4 separate regions of the Homo sapiens genome follow, and all the other regions are linked to region 1. The links are contacts of gene promoters, found by promoter capture Hi-C in human tissues and cell types (Jung and others, 2019). All regions are on one chromosome and are shown on one strand. Each heading gives the region's core, a stretch centred on a gene start or on the middle of the fragment in contact. The rest is flanking DNA. Distances are from core to core; before and after follow the strand shown. Region 1 holds the start of LAMC2 (laminin subunit gamma 2). Region 2 overlaps NMNAT2 (nicotinamide nucleotide adenylyltransferase 2). Region 3 overlaps LAMC1 (laminin subunit gamma 1). Region 4 has its middle 19 kb from the start of LAMC1.

Region 1 (2,899 bases), core at 194-2,693:
AACCTTTGACACTTATGTCTGCCCTGGATGATTTGTTCATTATCTTATGTTGTTGTCATCCACAGAACAATCTGGAGAATATTCATATATTTAGTCAGCAAATAGCTATTTATTGGGGGCCTTTGTAGGCCTCAATGTTGAGAAGAAGGGTTGGTTGTTTTGGACAGATTGTGTATTTATAAAGCTCTAGCAATTTTTAAATCTCTAGCAGGAACCAAAGCCTTCTTGACAGCCACCTCTCTGAATTATTGTCACTAGCCTCCTTAGGAGAAGAGACAATATAGTTTATACCAAGATTTGCAGTTGTCTAGATATTACTCACTTCAGCTAGCACTGTGCTAGTAGATAACATTCAAAGTTGGTCTCAACAAATATTTTCTCTAGTGCCCATGGAGAGTGGCTGAGAAATACACTCTAAGATGTAAAAGAGTTTGGTATCTAGATCCTCTTTCTTATTCATTTCAAGCCAATATTTATTAAGCACCAACTGCAAGCTAGATACTATTATAGTTAGGAATATAAAGTGGGCCAGGGATGGTGTTTATGCCTATAATCCCAGCACTTTGGGAGGCCAAGGCAGGAGGATTACTTGAGGCCAGGAATTCAAGGTCAGCCTGCCCAACACAGCAAGACCTCGTCTCTACAAAAAATTAAAAAATTAGCTGGGTGTGGTGGCATTTGCCTGTAGCCCTAGCTACTCAAGAGGCTGAGGTGGGAGGATTGCTTGAGCCCAGGGGTTGGAGGCTGCAGTGCGCTATGATGGTGCCATTGAAAACAAAAACAAAAACCAACCAACAAACAAAAAAACAAACAAAAAGAAAACGATACTCAGTCTTTATAGGGAGGTTGGCCAGTCAATAGGTTACTTTATGAGTTGCTAACCCTGGTGAGCAGGAAGTTATGTGGACCAGGAGAGAAACCCTTGGTTCAGCCTGGAGAAAGGAGAGGTTGACCCTAAACTGGAGGGTGGAGAGGACCCTGTTGTGACTCTCCGACTGACTTGTCTTCCTTGATGTCCTTTAAGCCGGAGCTGATTCGGGCTGCTGCCTTATTTCTGAGTTAGCGCTCTTAAGATTGGGCCTCCCAGTTTGAGGAAGGGGCGGGCTGCTGTCTACCTCTGTGAATCTGCCCTGGACCACCCCGGGAGAGAAGGAGGGCTCCGGGGAATCTCGCACATTCCAGGCAAAGGCTCCCGGGCCGCAGCCTCTGTGCCACACCCTTGGCCCGGGCCAGGTGTGCGCCCTCCTCGCTGCGAGGGGGAGCGGGCGGCTGCGGGGAGCGATTTTCCAGCCCGGTTTGTGCTCTGTGTGTTTGTCTGCCTCTGGAGGGCTGGGTCCTCCTTATTCACAGGTGAGTCACACCCTGAAACACAGGCTCTCTTCCTGTCAGGACTGAGTCAGGTAGAAGAGTCGATAAAACCACCTGATCAAGGAAAAGGAAGGCACAGCGGAGCGCAGAGTGAGAACCACCAACCGAGGCGCCGGGCAGCGACCCCTGCAGCGGAGACAGAGACTGAGCGGCCCGGCCCCGCCATGCCTGCGCTCTGGCTGGGCTGCTGCCTCTGCTTCTCGCTCCTCCTGCCCGCAGCCCGGGCCACCTCCAGGAGGGAAGGTGAGTCGGCTTCCACAAGGAAACATCTCAGCCCTGGGCTGAGAATCTGCCTTTCTCTGCAGACCGTGATGGCTGAACGTACCTCCGAGGATTCCCACTTTGTCCAGAAACTTGTTAGAGCTCCCTTCTCCTCCCCTATCTGGGGCTCCTCCAGAGACGGATTTTAAATGAGACTAATATATAAAGCTATCTGCTTTTTAAAAATAGTAAGACAATAAGCTGTGACAAAAGAGGGTCTTCCTTACCTTAAAAATGTTCCTTCTTGATGTCTTTTTTCGACCAAGGGGCCGCTATTTAATCAATAATGTGTTGTTATATACGTTCTTTCCCCAGCGTGTGCTTTTATTAAAAGGTTTTGGTGGCAATGTTTCCCATGACTGTGAACACCACAAAGATTGCAAAGGAACCTCTTCAATAATCCTGTAATTGATGTTTCAAATTTCGGATGGAAAAATGAGCCTTAATAGTATTAGCAATACCCTTAACTTTTGCATCACGTTACTTTTCATAGTATTTTCATGTAATATTCATTCAACAGGCACTTACTGGGCACCTGTGTCATATATCATTTGATCTTATCTAGGGCACCTAGTTGGCTGTCATGTGTTAGACGTTAAGTTCATGTAAACAAAACTTTGTGAGAACCTAGCAACTCTTAACTGTAAGCATGTGTCAGCTATGGCAACATTTTATGGGTGTTTTCCTTGTCACTTAGTTCTATGGATATATGCCTGTATAATTGCCCTGATGTTTTATGTTTATATTGCATCCTGCATCTGATGGCGTTTCAATCATTCTTTCAATAGGTCCAAGACCAAGAGCCATTTCCACACAAGTGCATGCATGAATATGAGATAATGCTCACATGCACATGCAATTGTATAAGCCATTCCCAATATTATTGTGCATTCCGGGTGATGCTGGCCTGAATTGGATTTGAGTGGCATGAATAATGTTTGAGCATGTGTTTGAATGCAATGCTACAGTCCTTTTTGTCTAAAAAAGTCTTGGAATTAACTTCCAACCTATCATCTCTGACTACCATTTTCAAAACCATGTATGATTGCCACCAAAAAAAAAAAAAAGGTGGAGATAAGTATGTGAAATAATGAACATATTAATTTGCCTGACTAGAATACTATTTTACTGTGTATATCGAAACATCATGTTGTATACCTTAAATATATATAGTTTTAAAAAGTGATAAATAAAAGGTTCTGAAAATGGTCATGAAGGGTATGTTCTCTTAGGGCTGGGATAAGAAGTCTCAGCCTAATGGAAGACATCC
Region 2 (2,700 bases), core at 23-2,522, 150 kb after region 1:
AAGGGACTTTACAGATGTGATTCAGTTAAGGATCTTCAAATGGGAAGATAATCCTGATTATTTAACTTAAGGATCCTTATAAGAGGGAGGCTGGATTGTCAGAGTCAGAGAAGGAGATGTGAGGAAAGAAGCAGAGGTCAGAGTAATGTGGGGCCATGAGCCAAGGAGCGCAAGCAGTCTCTGAAAGGTGGAAATGGGCAGGAAACAGATTCTCCCCTAGAGCCTCTAAAAGCAATGCAGCCCACCTAATTTGTTTTGGACTTCTGGCTTCCAGAACTGTAAGATAATACATTTGTATTGTTTTAAGCCACTAAATTTCTGGTAATTTGTAACAGCAATAATAGGAAACGAATACACTTTCTAAGCAGCTTGACTTGCACATAACTCAAGTCATTGCTGGATAAACCTGAAACATGGTGCTCCTTTTGGCTTTCTTCACAGATAATCTGCTGCTGGTGCTTCCCCCTCCTGACTTATAAATGCTGCCATTAGCTCTGTCATTTCCAGCTGTGTTCTTGTTCTCTTCAACTATCTCCGGGATCCACCAATGCTGTCTAATTGTCCCCAGTAAGTAAGAAAACTGAAAGGAGAAAATGATCTCATTGTTCCCAGTTAAGTAAGAAAGCCGAAAGGAGAAAGTGATAAAGACAAGTGCAGAGGCTTTGGGAAATGTGCACGATGCCTCTTCCTCACCGTCTCATTTTTTTTGAGACGGTGTCTTGCTCTGTCACTTAGGCTGGAATGCAGTGGCACGATCTCGGCTCACTGAAACCACCGTCTCTTTCGGGCTCAAGCAATTCTCCTGCCTCACTCTTCCGAGTAGCTGGGATTACAGGAGCACAACACCATGCCCGACTAACTGCTGTATTTTTAGTAGACACAGGGTTTCACCATATTGGCCAGGCTGGTCTCAGACTCCTGACCTCAGGAGATCCATCCGCCTCAGCCTTCCAAAGCGCTGGGATTACAGGCGTGAGCCACCATACCCGGCCCTGTTGAATTTCAATAGACTCCTTGCTTTCTATGACAGCCTCCTCAGACTGAAAGCCCAGATTCAACTAAGTTTATTTCAACACACTCAAGAGTCTGTGTCGCCACAGGGCCGGTGGAAGCAGGTGAGTTAGGTACAAGGCCACCCATTCTTTTTTTTTTTCTTTTGAGACAGAATCTTGCTCTGTCTCCCAGGCTGGAGTACAGTGGCATCATCTCAGTGCAACCTCCGCCTCCCAGGTTCAAGCGATTCTCCTGCCTCAGCCTCCTGAGTAGTTGGGATTACAGGCACCCACCACCAAGCCCAGCTAATTTTTGTATTTTTAGTGGAGATGGGGTTTCACCATGTTGGCCAGGCTGGTCTCGAACTCCTGACCTCAAGTGATCCGCCCATCTCAGCCTCCCAAAGTGCTGGGATTACAGGCATGAGCCACCGCACCTGGCCCAAGGCCACCCATTCTTCAGGTCGTGACCCAAACTGCCAGGACAGCTAAGCCCTGGGGTTGGGAGACTCCACGGTGCCCTAGTAAGGAAGCTCTGGGCTGACTTCCTGTCTGTTCTGGGTCAGGAAAAAGTTACATGATATTGTCCTAAGTGGAGAGAGTTAAGGAACTGGAGCACAACTTGGAATTAGATTAACATAAAAATCTGATTCAGCCAGGTCTCTCAGCTCCTCACTACATCAATTAATAACAATTGTCAAGTATAACCTACCAGGTACCTTACAGGTATCTCCTCATTTAATCCACTGAACTGTTGCATTATTCCCGTTTTACTGGGCTTCTGTGAAAAGTCACCGAACAATCACAACCAAAATAACAATTCCCCAAACAACTAGTTTCCTTCTTCTTGTTAGATCCCGTCTCTGTTAACAGCAACACCATCTACTCAGATGTCCAAATTAAAAAGTTCTGGTAGAAACAACATGGTCTCTTTCTACTCTATACCTCTGCACAAATCCGGCCCTATGTCTTGAAAAATCTATACCTCCAGCTGTGGATGCAAATAGGAAGGAAATAGCCCTTCACTCATTAGTGTAAAATGTGAATGAACCACCAACATGGCCACCACCTGAGTCTCCTCTGCACCCCTCTGTGGCAAGGTGATGTGAGGAAGCTCTTTTTCTGATTATGGATGCTTTTGCAACAGCCAAGCTTGAAGATGTTTCTGCTGTAGTCATCTTCAGTTCCAGCTTGGCTATGTTTCCTTGGGATAGACATGGGAGAAATGTCTATATAATGCCTTCCTAAAGCTTGGGAAAAATAGAACTTCCCTGGTGTCCCAGGATGGGGTTAGTTGATCATGCCTTTGTGCTGCCACATTGCGCATACTCCTTTTTGCAGTTATCCCTGTGTACTTCATTCATTTTATTTCATTATTTTTACTATATGTTTTGCCAACTAGATTATAGGGTCTCAGAAGTCAGGATCATGTCTAATATATCTTCTGATCCCAAGTCTAACCAGTGCTTGACACATTACAGGCACCCATCAATGTTTGTTGGATAAATAATCTGTGAATACAATAGGCTGGCCTATCTTTGGGCACAGGATGATCTCAGGAGATACGGAGGTTTACAAGGAGAGTAGGAGGGAGAGACCTTCACAACAAGGGTATCTGAACTCTGTGAAACTCATTTCTGTGAGAAACTAAAAGAGTCTGAAATTCTTCCCTAAATGTGTGTGATTTCTTCTCATACCAACTTTATTC
Region 3 (2,790 bases), core at 84-2,583, 140 kb before region 1:
ATAGGGTTTTTAAAATTGATCAGGCAGAATAGGATGGCTAGTACATGGTATAGTTTCCTCACCAGCATTGTTAGATGAAGAGTAAGTCACTGTATCAAAGAGCCCCAGTATAAAGTAATAAAGTAAATAAAAACCCAGTTTTAAATCATTGAAGTTTGTTTCTCCTTCAGGTGGTAATTCTGAGGTCAGTGGTTCAGGACAGCAGGGTAGTTCTCCACGCTGACATTCAGGGACTCATGAGTGTTTCCTGGAAATAATCTGGGATCCTTTAGGGTATCATTCTTATGTGCCTGGTTGAGGCTGGGTGATAGGCCCCTGTGCTTTCCAATTGGGAAGATATTGAGGAGTGTGTGCCTAAATCTTAACACTTGAAAATCTTACCTCCCCAAAGTGCCATAACACCTGAAAGTGTATTATCTGCCACCAGAGAGAGCTTAGTCACTTGGCCACCTCATAAACACAGTAGAGGCTGGAAAATGGGGTCTAGCTGGGTGGTCTTGTGCCTGGCCACAGATCTATTACAGTGATGGATGGGTTGGTGGGGAGAGAACAGATTTTTGGCAGACAGCTCTGCCATGCCAACTCCTGTGCTGAAGAGTCTGGTTTCTCCCAAGTTCTGGTCTTTCTGGAGAGTCTTCAGAGGTTCCCATTCTGTGGCTGGCAGTTGTAGGGAGTGGATATAGAAAAATAGGGACCACGCTCACTGTGGATCCTCACAACTTTAGCTTTTCAGTAAAAGAGCCTCTGAAGAAAGGGTGTGTACTCATTCTGCTCTTAGTGCACAGCCTTCACTCCCTGACTTTACAGAATTGGTTTATTCTTTGACCTTTTCCATTTTCACACCCCCAGCCCTCTCCTGGCACTGAGATCCCACTGTACCTTCTTGGTGTTGTGTACTTACACTGATGGGCTCTATGTCTATCTGCCTCGGAGGAGCACATCCCACATGGGCATTGTCTGAATTCACTTGACGATGCTGATGGTGTTTACCTTCAGCTGTGACAGACCAATCAGAGCTGTTTTAAAATCCAGATGTCTTTTAGGAATGAGAGTTCCAGAAGTGATAAATCAGTGCTTTTTGTGGCTTGAACATATACAGTTTTGTTGTGGAATCTTCTTAAATGTATATTTATCTTTTTCTTCATTGCGAGTTCATTGAAGGCAGCTGTGAATCATGTTTTAACCATTAATTAGGTGTCCAACTTAGAGTGGGGTGCTTATGATCTAGTAGATTTAGGAAGATGGGTGTATGTTACATAACACCCTCAGCAGGACCCCCATCTCCAAGCAATTGAATATATCTGCAGTAAAATGTATTCGTACGAAACAGACTGATGAAAGGCTATCATAGCCTCACACTAGGTCATGTATTGTTGTCACACATTATGAAAATCTCCTGCTGTTTAGGGCTTTTTGAATTGAGAATCACAGATGAAGGATTATGGACTTATATCACATTTGATTACGTAAGTTATATCACTTTTACAGATAGTGATAAAACTACTGAAGACTATATAAAAATGTGAACAATAGGCATCTGGTAAATTGGTTATCTAAATAAGCAGATAAAGTTTAATAGGAAATTTCATTTCATTGAAAGGGTGAATTTTGACATGTTCTAACAATTTGAGTGAATGGATTATGAAATTATGGTAACAATATTTAGAACTACAGATAGGGCATTACATAAATGTTTAAAAGAAGAAAAGAAATAGGGTTGAATTCTGATAAAAAGTGACCTATTAGAAAAGTATTTCTATTCCTCTAGGGACATCCGTTCAATTTTTGTTGTTGCTTCATTGATTTTTGTAAAAAGGTGTTGCCTTTTAAAAATCATTTTAGAAAGGCAATGTCATTTTTAATGACATTACTACCATGCATAGTTTTGTGAGAAACCTGGCTATGTTAAAGCCATTTCATTTGAGATACATTTTGAATTGAAAGTTATTCTGTTGTTCTTGTTTTCAGAAGCAGATAATTTTGGCGATGTCTGTGTCCTTCTTGTCTGCTCTTTATCTGTTTACCTACCTGCTTATCACAACTAACTTTCTGTCCAGTTTTTTTTAATCCTTAGTAAATCAGTGTCTAGGAATCTTTAGTCACTCAGTTTTGAGGATGACTGTGTAAATGGTTATAAATGATTGCTTTTGCCTGTTGTGTTCTGTCAGCTTGGTTTTTGCTTTCTAAAAGATTACAGTCTCCTTGAATTGACATCTTTCTTTTTTATTTTTTTAAAGTCAAACTCATTCTCTTTATTTGTGCAGAGTCCTTTGCCCAAAATACATCATGTTGTCCTCTGGGCTTTACTGTCCTAGTTTCTTTTGGAAGAAAAATGCCTTCTCTATAAATTCTTCCCCACATCTTAGAAGTGTGACACAGCAGTGCTTACTGTATCACTCATTGGTCACTTGAGCATACCATCTTCTTTGGGAATCTTTTTTATGTTTATTTATTTTCATATGCACCCAGCGTGGGAACCGTGTTTTAAACCATTAGGTCAGTAACTTAGAGCTGGGTACTTGACTCGTAAAACGATAGGCATTTAAATATTCTTTGGCTCTTTTGATGAATCAGAAGATTCAATTCTAAACTGACAGAGAAACCTAGGACTAAATTAAAAAAATATATCCAGGCCATGGCTTTGGAAGGGTGTTTGGAAGAGCTGTGTTCACTAATCATTGGAGAAAGGCCACGGAGCTATTTCCTCAAGATTTAAGACATCCCCCTTTTGTGGACAGTAGTAATAGAAGACCTGTCTGTTCTGTTGAACTTTCCTTTAAGAACTGGAAA
Region 4 (2,700 bases), core at 161-2,660, 180 kb before region 1:
GCTTACTACGAGTTAGTCAGTAGGGGAAAAAAGAGAATCTAGGAGTTTTTTGTTTTTTTTTTTACAAAAAAAAAGAAAGGAAAAAGATTTCCTCAAAGTTAAATTAATGCACATAAGAATATCAAAAAATACAGCAAAGATACTTTGTCAAAACCAAGCAACACTTAAACACAAAACATTAATTTATGTTAACTTTATGTAAGTAAGTTATTTTGAAAGTCAACTCTAAAGATTATGTTCAGAAACTTCTATTTATGCTATTTTTGTTTTCTACACATTATTTTAGTAATAAGGGCTATATCCTCCCATGAGATCTACAGGGCGGATATTAGATAAGCCACAGATGAGTTAACTTGTTTTGGCTTGAATGAGGAAATGTGGCAGCTCCAGATGCTTCCATGCTCCGAGCACATCGGATCCAGTAGGCAAGAGAAACTGGGCTAAGACTCAAAGAAGGGAGGTGCTTTTAGCTAATAACAAAGTCTACTCTTCCAGTGTTTCTGTAGGCAAGGATTTTTTTTTAAGAAAAATATTATTACAACATAGTTATAGATTCGTTCTTGGTAAACAAACTTCAACAAAGGATGATCCAAAAGGCTTGAATTTCTAGCTGCAGAAAGAGTTATTTTTACTCTTCAGTCTGTTCCCGTGACTTTTTTCCCTACCTTTGTTAATGGCTTCACCATCCATTGAACTGACCAAGCTAGAAACCTCAAATTTATTCTCCACAGCTCCTTCTCCCTCACCCTCTTTTGCTACTGGTTTTAGTTTTACTCATTCGCCCATTCTGTCATCTAAGTAGATATATTTATTATATCTACTTATATATCTACTATATCTACATGTATAACACATCTGTTATAACCTCCATGGCCTCTTCTAAAGGTTGAGCCTCTCACCTCTCTGGACTATATGACCATCTCCTAGATGGTTTTACTGCCCCTGATAAAGTTATTTATTTGCCTAAAAACCACCAATGGCTCACCCTCATCTACAGATCAGAATACAACCTCTTTAGCATATCTGCGCTCTCCCCAATCTGTATAATCACCTATTTTCTTCTACTTCCCTGAAAACCTCTACTCTGTCAGTTTCTTCTCACCATTCCCCAGACATCTCCAGCATATCCAGCTCTTACATATTTCAGTGTTTTTGTATGTGATGTTCCTTTAACTTGCAGTCCTTCCTCTGCCTTCATTACATGACCAATCCTAAGGCTTCCTTTACTCCCAGCACAAATGTGGCCTCTCTCTCTGAAAGATGTCTTGACTCCTCAAATAATTAACTACTCCCATTTCATATTTGTGGCAGAGATTCTTGCTCCTCATTGAATAGAGTCTTTTGATGCTGCACATTTGCCAGCTCCTTTCCAGTGCGGTAAGGCCATGTGACTTCTTCTGGTCAAAGGGCTGTGAGTGGAAGTGAGATGCGCCACTTCTGATCCAAAACACCTAAGAGTTGGTGCATGACCCTCCAACTCTCTCTTCTCTTGGCAAGTGTAAAGGTCTTGTGATGGGATGGTAAAACCACAAGATGGAAATGGCCTAAACAGACCACATGTAGGGAGCTGCTCTGGGAAGTCCTCTGATCCTGCATTAGGCTTCATGTAAGCAAGAAATAAACTTTTGTTGGTTAAGTCACTGAACTTTGGGGTTTATTCACTACCGCAGTGTAAACTCCCCTAACCAGCCTAACTCAACATCCTACATATCTCTATTTAGCCTTTTGTTTTACAAAACTATAATAATGGATATTATTCTGTATTGTTAACCCCAAGGTCAGGCACTACACCTTATTTAGCATCTAACACAGTATTATAAAGAAAATTGAACTTGAAAACTGGACTCTGCATCTTCAAACTTAATTTCCAAACCTGTTCTCCTTCCAGTGCTTCTAATCTCAGTAAATGGCATCATCACTAACCCAGTCACTCAATCCAGAATATAGAAGTATATTTCTTACGTCTTTTCAAGCTTCTAAAGCCAGAAAATACCTTGGAGGTTCTTATTCTACCTCCCAAGTATATCTTAAGTTTGCCATGTTTCTCCATTCTCTCATTCATCACTTTCTACCTCTTACTGGAGTGGTAGCCACCAGCTTTCTTTATATTTATATATATATATATACACACACACACACACACACACATATAGAGACATATATGTATATACACACACACACACATGCACATATATAAGCTTTCTTTTTATACACACATATGTAACATTATTAGGTAAATATATATGTATATTAACTTCAATAGCTTTTGGGGTATAAGTGGTTTTTGGTGACACAGATGAATTGTATAGGGGTGAAGTCTGAGATTTTAGTGCACCTGTCACCCGAGTAGTGTACATTAAACCCAATATGTAGTTTTTTCTTAAATCCCTCTTTCCACTCCCACTCATTCCCTTTCTGAGTCTTCAAAGTCCATTATACCACCCAGTATGCCTTTGGGTACCCATAGCTTAGCTCCTATTTATAAGTGGGAACATGCAGTATTTGGTTTTCCACTCCTGAGTTACTTCACTTAGAATAATGGCCTCCCGCTCCACCCAATTCATTGCAAAAGACGTAATTGTGTTCCTTTTTATGGCTGAGTAGTATTCCATGGTGTATACAGACCACATTTTCTTTATTCATTCATTGGTTGATGGGCACTTAGGTTGGTTCCATATCTTTGCAATTGTGAATTGTGCT

The links. Contacts are between HindIII fragments. The study calls those that stand out against the background at their distance.
Region 2: a contact is called between a fragment that was not itself captured here and the fragment with the promoter of LAMC2 in region 1, in 1 of the 25 tissues and cell types used here (pancreas).
Region 3: a fragment that was not itself captured here is called in contact with the fragment with the promoter of LAMC2 in region 1 in 1 of the 25 tissues and cell types used here (aorta).
Region 4: a contact is called between a fragment that was not itself captured here and the fragment with the promoter of LAMC2 in region 1, in 3 of the 25 tissues and cell types used here (H1 embryonic stem cells, IMR-90 fibroblasts and aorta).

What each region holds. Positions count from the first base shown.
Region 1 is chr1:183,184,821-183,187,719 of GRCh38, forward strand. LAMC2 (laminin subunit gamma 2) reads left to right here and starts at 1,444. Exons shown (of 23, transcript NM_005562.3): 1 at 1,444-1,611. The coding sequence starts at 1,533. RefSeq lists enhancers at 729-1,311, 814-2,013 and a silencer at 1,418-1,487. The HindIII fragment of the contact is 15,048 bases long and covers 1-2,899 here.
Region 2 is chr1:183,333,375-183,336,074 of GRCh38, forward strand. The region is part of intron 1 of NMNAT2 (nicotinamide nucleotide adenylyltransferase 2); the gene reads right to left. Among named protein-coding and RNA genes, the nearest start is that of NMNAT2, 84 kb to the right of the region's middle. The HindIII fragment of the contact is 4,013 bases long and covers 1-2,700 here.
Region 3 is chr1:183,041,958-183,044,747 of GRCh38, forward strand. All of the region lies in intron 1 of LAMC1 (laminin subunit gamma 1), which reads left to right. Among named protein-coding and RNA genes, the nearest start is that of LAMC1, 20 kb to the left of the region's middle. The HindIII fragment of the contact is 6,365 bases long and covers 1-2,790 here.
Region 4 is chr1:183,003,025-183,005,724 of GRCh38, forward strand. No RefSeq gene overlaps it. Among named protein-coding and RNA genes, the nearest start is that of LAMC1, 19 kb to the right of the region's middle. The HindIII fragment of the contact is 3,870 bases long and covers 1-2,700 here.